Regions from separate parts of the Homo sapiens genome. Here region 1 is linked to region 2. The links are contacts of gene promoters, found by promoter capture Hi-C in human tissues and cell types (Jung and others, 2019). All regions are on one chromosome and are shown on one strand. Each heading gives the region's core, a stretch centred on a gene start or on the middle of the fragment in contact. The rest is flanking DNA. Distances are from core to core; before and after follow the strand shown.

Evidence for each region. The method cuts DNA at HindIII sites, captures the fragments that hold promoters and counts their contacts. A contact is called where the count stands out against the background at its distance.
Region 1: a contact is called between the fragment with the promoter of IFITM5 here and the fragment with the promoter of PKP3 in region 2, in 4 of the 25 tissues and cell types used here (H1 embryonic stem cells, IMR-90 fibroblasts, adrenal gland and 1 more).

The regions. Positions count from the first base shown.
Region 1 is chr11:296,595-300,955 of GRCh38, forward strand. It overlaps IFITM5 (interferon induced transmembrane protein 5), which reads right to left and starts at 2,932. Exons shown (of 2, transcript NM_001025295.3): 1 at 2,711-2,932; 2 at 1,606-2,119. The coding sequence starts at 2,896. The coding sequence ends at 1,907. RefSeq lists an enhancer at 2,103-2,262. The HindIII fragment of the contact is 20,921 bases long and covers 1-4,361 here.
Region 2 is chr11:391,446-396,300 of GRCh38, forward strand. It overlaps PKP3 (plakophilin 3), which reads left to right and starts at 2,764. Exons shown (of 13, transcript NM_007183.4): 1 at 2,764-3,079. The coding sequence starts at 2,848. RefSeq lists an enhancer at 2,217-2,979. The HindIII fragment of the contact is 50,700 bases long and covers 1-4,855 here.

The DNA of each region.
Region 1 (4,361 bases), core at 1,682-4,181, 95 kb before region 2:
GTGGGCACAGGTGTCAAGTCAGGGTGGTCGGTAGCCTTGCGCCCGCAGGAGAGATATGGCCTGAAGCCTGCTGCACGTGCGTGCCACACGCGTGTGGGGCCACCTCTGCACATCCTGAGGTGACCCTTTTGGGGGGGTCGTGATGGTCAGTGCACGTGTGCCGGCAGGGCTGGTCAGGGTTCATCGCCTGCCCAGGAGCCTGAGCCTGAGGCAGGGAGGTGCTGGTGACCGTTCCCCCAAGGTGGCTCACCCACAGCACCGGGAATGGACCAGGTCGTCCCTGCCCCTCAGTAAGCCTGGGGACTGGCAGACCGTCTCTTTTCTGGGGACACGTATCCAGCCACACATGGGCTGACCCCCTCCCAGTCTCTGCACCCGACACAGTTTGATCCCTTCTCAGGCCAATCCTGAGGCTCAGGGCTGGCACACTGTCTCTATCCCAAGGCAAGCACAGGTGGGCACACTGCCCTTGTCCTTGGTCCACTGTGGGACTGGTCCTGTCTGTCTCCAGCGCCCAGCATGGCCTCCACACACCTCTGCCTCCAGGGCTGGCTGGGCCTGCCCTCAGAGTCCCTGCCACGCCAGCCGTTGGCTGCAGGCATATCACAGATAGGGGATGCTGCCCAGGGCTCCGAGTAGACCAAAAGATTCCTGCCCACAGCCCAGGAAGAGCAGGCAGGCAACGGCGATTCCCCGGGAAGGGAAGGGCCCCGGAGTGGGGTGCTCAGAACCCTGGGCCACTGTGCTGTTAACCACCACCTCCCGGCAATGGCTGGCCTCAGCGAGGCCCCAGGGCCTCCCCGCAGCCTCGCAGTGTGCATGTCCCTGGCCCTCTCCCATCACCAGGCTGTGGTGGGTGTGTGGGGAGGCTGTGGTACACAACGCAGGTAAAATAATATGAGAACATGCACCCAGCACCAGGGGACTCAGAGAATGTTGCACACATGCCCATTTTCTGCCTTTCTGGATATAGTTTGGTTGGGGTGTGTGTGTGTGTGTGTGTGTGAGAGAGAAAGGGAAGCTGCTATCCTTCCCACATGTGTTTGTGTGTGTGTCCAGCCCCACCCATGGGATCGTCCCCGCCCTGCCTTTCTAGCCACCCTCACTGGCCCAGGAGGGAGGGAAACCACCGTGGGGACTGGGATTTCTCAGAATTAAGGGGGCACGCAGGGTCATGGGGACAGACAGAATGACCCAGAAAGGAAGGAGGTGTACACCAGACCGCAGATGGAGCCCACCCACAGGCACGGACTCTCACGCAGACTTCGAGCACGCACACACATGCGCACAGAGAGATGGGGTGGACACACGTGGGGTTGGGACGCACCCATGATGTTCTGGAGCACAGGCCGCTAAACCACAGAGCAGCAGAGATCAAAGGCCTGGGCTCTCAAACTTAGTCTAAAATACTCTGGGCCTCCGCCCCGTAAGCCACAGGCCGCCCAGTGGCTGAGAGAAGGGGACAGTTGGGGCCAAGCAGGGCTGCTGAGCTGCGGGGGGCGCTCCCGCCACTGACTCTGGGGGCTGGCCCTGTGGCATTTGGCTTTGGTGGTCCCTAGGGCAGCTCCTTCCCCCACGCTAGGCAGGAAAGAGGCCAGGAGGCACTTTCTGGAACCAGGCACTTTTAATCGTGGAACCGAGGGGCCTGGAGTGTGAGGAGGGAGGGGCAGGATCGGGGGCAGAGTTAGGGCCCGGGAACTCTCGGGTTAGGGTGAAGACCCCGGGGTCTGACTGGTTCAGCCTTAGGTGCCCATGTTGGGGCTGGAGGGCCCCAGGATCAGGATGGGGCAGGGATGGAGGCCCCACAGAAGGAGGGCCAGGCTCCGGGGAGTCAGTATTGGGCCCCAGGGGCAGCAGCCTGGGGTCAGTGTCCTGGGGCTAGTGCCCCAGATCAGGACCCAGCCTGTCAGTCATAGTCCGCGTCATCAAACTTGGTGCTGAAGAAGGCGGCAGAGTCCTTGGCCAGCCGGGCCAGGTGCAGGGCACCAGTCACCACCAGCCCCAGGAGCAGCAGTGGCGGCACCAGCGTCCACATCGCGGCCAGGATGTTGTAGCACTTGGCTTTGGAGCCAAAACGCCGGGCCGCTTCCAGGTCACCAACCACCTTCTGATCTCGGGCCTGCAGAGAGACCAGACCACAGGGCCAGATCTCTATGTGTCCTCGGGGCCTGGGGGCCCTTCCCCACCCACACCCTGGGCACCTGGAAGGCCCCTACTGCACCCAAAATCTGGATGGAGGGGTGTGGCCTGAGGAGATACTCCTTGGGGCCCCAGCTATGGACCCGGGGGCCATCCCAGGCCAGTGTCAGCCTATCAGAGCTCTCTATGGGTGAGGGTCCCCCAGGGTGCTGAGACACCCCCCACCCTGCCAGCCAGGAGCTGAAGTCAAAGGGACCTCTGTTCCAGAAGCCCACAGCATGTGAACCCCCTCTTGATTGCAGAGACCTCTGTGGGTGCCTCCCAATGGCCTCTGTGCTCTTGGATGGGCCAGACCCCGTTAAGAAGAGGCCCCCCGGCCTTGCCTTCGTGAGGAGCTCTTTCCCGGCCATACTGATAGCTGTGCCCACAGAGCCCCTCACGGACAAGCAGAGCCCCCCGCGGCCCCCAGCACGGCAAGGACCCCCCACGGAGCTCCCCATCCCTCCCCCTTCCCCCCACCTTGATGGAGTAGTGGAGCCTCCCCCGCAACCTCGGTAGGGCCCCTGCCCACCTTGATGGAGTAGGCCAGCGCCAGGAAGCCGAGGCAACACAGATTCAGGTAGAGGGTGCTGAACACCGACCAGATCAAGTGGTCTCGAGGCGGGGGGTGCGGGGCCCCCAGTGTGAGGGCTGTGTGGGCACCGGCCTTGCTGGGCGTGGGGGCCCGGGTGTCCTCGCGGGGATACGCCGTGTCCATGGGTTCCAGCGCCGTCTCTTCCACACTCAGACTGGTGCTGGGAGGGTGGGCACCCGCTCACTTATAGCCCTGTCGCCCTCCCGGCCCAGCCCCTCAACGCTATATATAACACAAATTACAGCCTGCGGGCCGAGGGTGCGGCCCGCCCCTTAGCCCCCACCCCAGGGAGCCCCTGTCCGAGGCTGCCTTGGACCACCCAGCAGGGTCCCTCCTGACAGACATCCCATCTGGGAGCCCCCCGCTTGGAAGGCTACGGCCGGGCAGTGGCAGAGACCCCCACCCATCCCCCCACCCCCATCAAAGGCTGCTGGCCAAGTGGGCAGTGGGCAGACCACTGGCCAGAGCCCCCTCCGTCCAGGCCAAGAAGAGTTGGAGGTGTCGCCTCAGGGCCATGGGCCTCATAATTCAGGGATGTACAGGAGCCCCCTCCTCAGAACCAGAGCTGCTGAAACTGCAGCCCCTTCATTCCCAGAACTCAACTCTGCCCCTAACACTCTCAGAGCACCAGCGCCAGGCCCTAGGAGCGCAGGCATCCCTGCAAGGGGGACAGGGAGGGCGGCTGTCGGAGGAGGGCGCGAGAGAGAAGGAGAGAACCACATGGGGGGAAAGCCAGGGGGTGCAGCCTGTTAGGAGCCGGCAGGGGAACCCCCAGGGACCAGCAACAGCTGTTAACACTGGTGTCGGGATGCAGGGAGCCTGTGGGCTCCTGTGGTGGACACTCCCCTCAGCCTCCTCGGCTGCCCTCCCTGATCCCAGAATGTCTGTGGTGAGTGGTCCTGTTTAGGGCTCAAGGTCCGCCCCAGTCTTGTCTCTGGCTGTAGATGCCTGTGTGTGCTGACGACTCACATTTATGTCTTCAGCCCAGACTTCCCCCCAAAGACATTGGCTTGGTCCCCAGCTCTGGACACACACACGCAACTCCTGCTCTGTGGACCTCCACCCACGTGCCAACAATAGACCCTGGATCCTCCCTCCCAACCTCCTCTGCCAAGCCTTCCCCGGAGCAGTGGTGGCAACTGCACCGGGCCAGAAGGCTCAGCTTCCCCGTCTCCCAGTCGGCCACACTCCTGAGTGCCCAGGACCAAGCTGCCCTCCCTCCTCCAGGACGCACACTCGCCACCTGCAGGGGATGGTTGGGTGGGGGGTTCCTTGCTGCTGTGCTTGAGCCTGTGAACCCCAAATATCTGAGACAGGTCTCGGTTAATTTAGATTATTTTGCCAAGATTGAGGATGTGCCTGTGACAGCCTCTGGAGCTCCTGAGGATCTGTACCCAAGGTGGTCGGAGCACAGTTTGGTTTTATACATTCTAGGGACACAGGAGACATCAGTCAACATATGTAAGATGAACATTGGTTCAGTCTGGAAAGGCAGGACAATGCAAAGCAAGGCAGGGAAGACTCGAAGTGGGGAGGCGCTTCCCGGTCGCAGGTAGATAAGAGACAAAGGTTGCATTCTTTTGAGTTT
Region 2 (4,855 bases), core at 1,514-4,013:
GCCTCTCTGTGCACCGGCTCACTCCTGAATTCGGCTTTGACTATATTTTGCTTCCAACGTCCTCACACCTTTCTCCCCAGATCCTCCCCCTTCTGCTCCTTAAGACGACCACCCCAACCCCCTCCACCCACGCAGGCTCTGCCCTGGAGGTTTGTCTTCTGTGCCCTCCCACAACTCCGGGCACGCACCTGGCAGCTCTGCCCACGACCTGGGCCCAGCCGACCTTCTCTGTGAGCGCCTCCCGTGCCCCCCACGCTGAGCCCACCATGCCCCGAAGCCCTCCTGCGCCCTCTCCCACCGCCTCTTGGGAGGTGACTGACAGGCCACACCCCACCCAGGACCCATCTAAGAGCAGCGCTCACTCACCCTTCGAGGCCCTCAGGTTCCAGGCTCTCAACCTGATTGTGCACCCAAGCGGCCCGAGGCTCCGTGCAGATTCCGGGCCCCACAGACAACCGCTTCCTCCAGGAAGCCTACCGTCAAGCCCCCCTCCAGGGCTCCTGTGTCAGGAGCTGGCTCCAGGGAGAGTGCGACCCTCAGGGCTGGTCACAGGGATCAGATGAGACTCCGCCGAGCCTGGAGCTGGAAGCTGCAGCGGTGGCCTAGCAGGCATCGCCATCCGTCTGGCCCGGCCGCAGTGAGGGAAGGTGCACCCCAGATTCCTGGCTTTGCCAAAACTGTGCCTGGCGGGCACCACGCATCCTCAGGGAGGCGCCGCAGCTCTGGGGGGGGGCACCCACAGCCCTCTCTGCCAAGGGGAGGAGGGAAGGTGGGCAGAGTCGGCCCTGGGGGCCCTGCAGGCCGCGGGGTACCGGCGTTCCCATCATAGCTCCAGCCGCACGGAAGCCCCTTCACTGAGTCCTCTTGTGAGCCCTTCGGCCTGACTGGGCTGCAGAGGCCCTCCAGGCTGGCTTCCCCCTCATGCCGCCCAGCCTGGCCCCTGCAGGGCCCCAGGTGGGCCTGGGGTGGACCTGGGTGCAGGGCGGGACCCAGCCCATGCCAGGCACATACCTCCAGGCCCGCTCTGCGCCGCACAAACTTGTCTCCCAGGATTTTTCCACACGAAACCTGTCTCCCAGGGAATCAGCCAGTCCGATGAGCTGGGCGTTCCCACCCCGCCCTCCGAGGCCCCCACAGTCCTGTCCCCGCCGCAGAGGCTGCCCCGCACGCGCCGGGCCAGGGATGGAGTCCTGGACACCTCGGCCGTCAGCAGTGGCCTCTGGGATGAGCTGGGAGGCTGGCGGGATCCGGACCACGAGCCGGGTAGGTCTCCCACCCCTTCCCCACCACCCCGACCCCACCTGGTGGCCCCAGCCCGGGCCTCACCCATCCTTTCAGTGGACCTTCCCCTCCCCCTTTAACCCCCCACGCTGACCTCCGACTCCTACTCTCCAGCTTCCTCCCCTCAGAACTGACCTCACCCTTAATGCTGCCTCCTAACCCTGACCCGGCCCTCACGCCAGACCCCTGCCCCAGCCCCATTAAGGCAAAAATCTTCCAGGGACGGAGCTAGGGGGCAAGGGTCTGCCCTGGAGGAGAGCCCAGAGCCAGGGTCCAGGGTCCAGGGAGAAGCAGAGGCTGTCCGATGAGCTCGTGAGAGAAGCCCAGAGGTTGTCATAGATGTTCAGCTCCCACCCCCAGCCCTCCTAGGCTTATCCCCACCCCCATCTACCAGGGGCTTGTCCCAGAGGCTAGAGGGCCTCAGAGCCCATTTGCTGGCTGTGGTGCTAGAAGGAGACCTTCTGGGCACAAGCCCTGCTTGGTCCAGGGCCCCCCCACCAGGGGCCCCCCACTACCCCACCCCCACCAGGGGCCCCCCACCCTCGCTCCCTCTCCATCCAGGCCTCTGCTCTTCCAGACCCCTGGTTCTTCCCTGCACACCCGCTCCTGCCCCAGCCTGACATGCGCTGACAGGAGTGCAGGCCCTCTGAGTCAACCCCCTGGGGCGGCCCCGCCCCCCTGCACCCTGACTCATGTGCTGGGAACGGCCTCCCACCCCAGGGCCTGGGGTGCAGGAGCAGTGGTGCCAGGGTCCCAGAAGCCAGAGAGGGTTTTGGAGGCCTCTGTAGGGGGTGAGGGGGTCCTGGGGGTGAGTTCCAGGGTCTGCAGGCTTCGGGGGAGGGCCGGTCCATCCACATGCTTCCTGGTGCGGAGGGGGCTCGCTGGATTCCAAGGACCAGGGCCAGGGCCTCCATGGAGTCCCGTTGGACCCTAAAGCTCTGTCCCTCCAGCCTTTGTCCTGATCCCTGGCACTGACCCCTGACTCCCGACAGTGTCTCCTGCCAACCCTTCCTAGGCCTCATCCCCACCTCACCAGGAAGGCTGGGCTACCATGGAGGCTGGCTGATTCTTGGAGCTACCTAGGGCCCTAGACCCCCAGGGACTGGGGCACCCTCCCCTTCATGCTGGGGGTGGCAGGACATAGGCCCCCCGCAGGCCCCCTGCCCTTCCCTGACACTCAGGACACAGAGGGCCCCTCTGTCCCAGCCCCACGACAAAGGGCCCGGTCTGGCCTTTACAGGCTGAGAACAAGAAGGACCCAGGTCCCCGTGGCCCTGTTGTGGGATGGGAGAAAAGGAGGCGGGAGGCCAGGCTGGGACCTGGGGCCATGCAGGGCCTGTTCTTCCGCCCAAATTCCACCTTAAGCAGGCGGCGGCCCCTCCCTCCCACCTGGCCAGGTGTCCCCGCCCCCAGCTGCGCTCAGGGCTGGGCAGGCGTCTGTCTTCAGGCGGCTCTGGGTGAGGCTGGCTGGGCGGGGACTTCAGGGAGAGGGCCTCGAGGGACAGGACGTGAAGATAGTTGGGTTTGGAGGCGGCCGCCAGGCCCAGGCCCGGTGGACCTGCCGCCATGCAGGACGGTAACTTCCTGCTGTCGGCCCTGCAGCCTGAGGCCGGCGTGTGCTCCCTGGCGCTGCCCTCTGACCTGCAGCTGGACCGCCGGGGCGCCGAGGGGCCGGAGGCCGAGCGGCTGCGGGCAGCCCGCGTCCAGGAGCAGGTCCGCGCCCGCCTCTTGCAGCTGGGACAGCAGCCGCGGCACAACGGGGCCGCTGAGCCCGAGCCTGAGGCCGAGACTGCCAGAGGTAGGCGGTGGGGACAGCGGCGGGGATGGCGGTGGCGGGGAGAGGTGGCTGCGGGCGGACGTGATAGTGTGAGGGCAGAGGCCGCAGTGAGGCCGGCTCCTGACTCACCAGGCCTCACACTGAGTCACACACCCCGCCCCAGGGGCGTGGGGAGAAGCCATGGGTGGGGCTGCCCTGTCCAAGCAGGGACCCCGGGGTCCTCCAAAGACTGAGCCTGGCCAGGCCCCACCTGTGCCTGGAGTCCTGGAGCCATCCCTGTGGGGGATGACAGGGAAGGTTGGCACATGGCAGGCGGGCCAGGCCACTCGGTCGGCAAACCCGGAACACGCACGCGCCTGGCCCCGGTAGCACAGACTCACATAGGGTCTCAGGGACACCCAGACACCCACGCTCCTCCCATACCTCACGGGAATGAGCAGAACGGGAAAGCGGGGAGAGGTGTGGGGGTGCTGGAAGTCCTGGAGGAAAGCCAGGCCTGTCTGGACCAGGGGCTCCCTGAGGAATTAGAGGGGAGGGCCCGGCTGGAGTGACCTAGATTTCTCTGTGGGAACAGCAGGTGGAGGAGCACCCCTCGGTGCCAGCCAGACCCACCTGTGGCGGAATCCTGGCCCCACTCACGCGAGTGTGTGTGCATGCGTGTGAGTGTGAGTGACAGGAGCACAGACGCTGTGAGTTGAAGGCAGTGGTTCTAGGAACGCCATTTCCTCCTTCCCAGGCTACAGCAACAGGGATTAAGGTTAGACAGTAAGATGGACCTCCCAGAATGCCAGGGACCCAGATGCCAGTTCATCATGGTCCACTTGGTGTTTAGAGGGGCCTTCCCCAGGACTGGCCTCCAGCCACTGGCCAGGGGGAAGTGAAGGTCGCCCAGCGGAGGGGCCGGCCCGGCGGCCTGGACTGTGGGGTCCTCCCTCCAGGGGCCTCAGCCTTGCTGGTGACCAAGTCGGGTGCCCAGGGGTCATGGGGTGGAGGACGGTGAGGGAAGGGTTAATTACCACCCTGGCTGCCCTGCCAATTAGAGGGAGGTGGATTATAATTGGGGGGTGGGGGTGAGGTCCCCAGGCTGGGGCGTGCCCCCACTCCGGGCTGGGCCTCACGAGCGTCAGAGGGTTAATAGCCCCGGCCCAGAAGCCCCATTAACCAGGGTGAACCTGGGGCCTCTGCCATGGGGGTGTCCCCCACAGAGCATCCAGCTCTGGGCAGAGTTGTGGGAGGGCCACGGCCCCTTTCCCTGCACCCCACCCTGAGCCCCTCAGCCAGGTCGCTCTGGTGGGCCTTCTCATGCCCCCACCATCAGCCCATCCTCTCTGCACCCATCCACGAGTCCATCCCTCTGCCCACTCACCATCCAACCATGGGACCCTGTCGTCGACGGCTGTCCCACCCCTCCATCCACCACTCTGTCCATCCTTCCAGCAGTCACAGCAGCCCTCCCATCCTCCTCCTGCCTGTCCCTCCATCCACCCTCCGCCCTCCACCCTCTGCCCACCCACCTGTCTGTCCACTCACTGTGGAGTCGGGCTGACGCAGCTGCCCTTGGCGTGTGTGTGGCTGGACGGGGTGGGTGTGGCCCCTGCCTCAGGCTCTGCCGGGTGGGACAGGGCACTGCAACAGGGCATACTGGTCCAGGGAGACAGTGTCACTCTCCTGTGACCGGGCACAGATGAGGTTTGGGCACAGGAGGGGCTCAAAAGGAGTCAGTGTGGGCCGGGGCAGGCCAGGCTGGCTTCCTGGAGGAGGCTGGGCACTGTACCATGGCAAGGATTGGAGAACTGA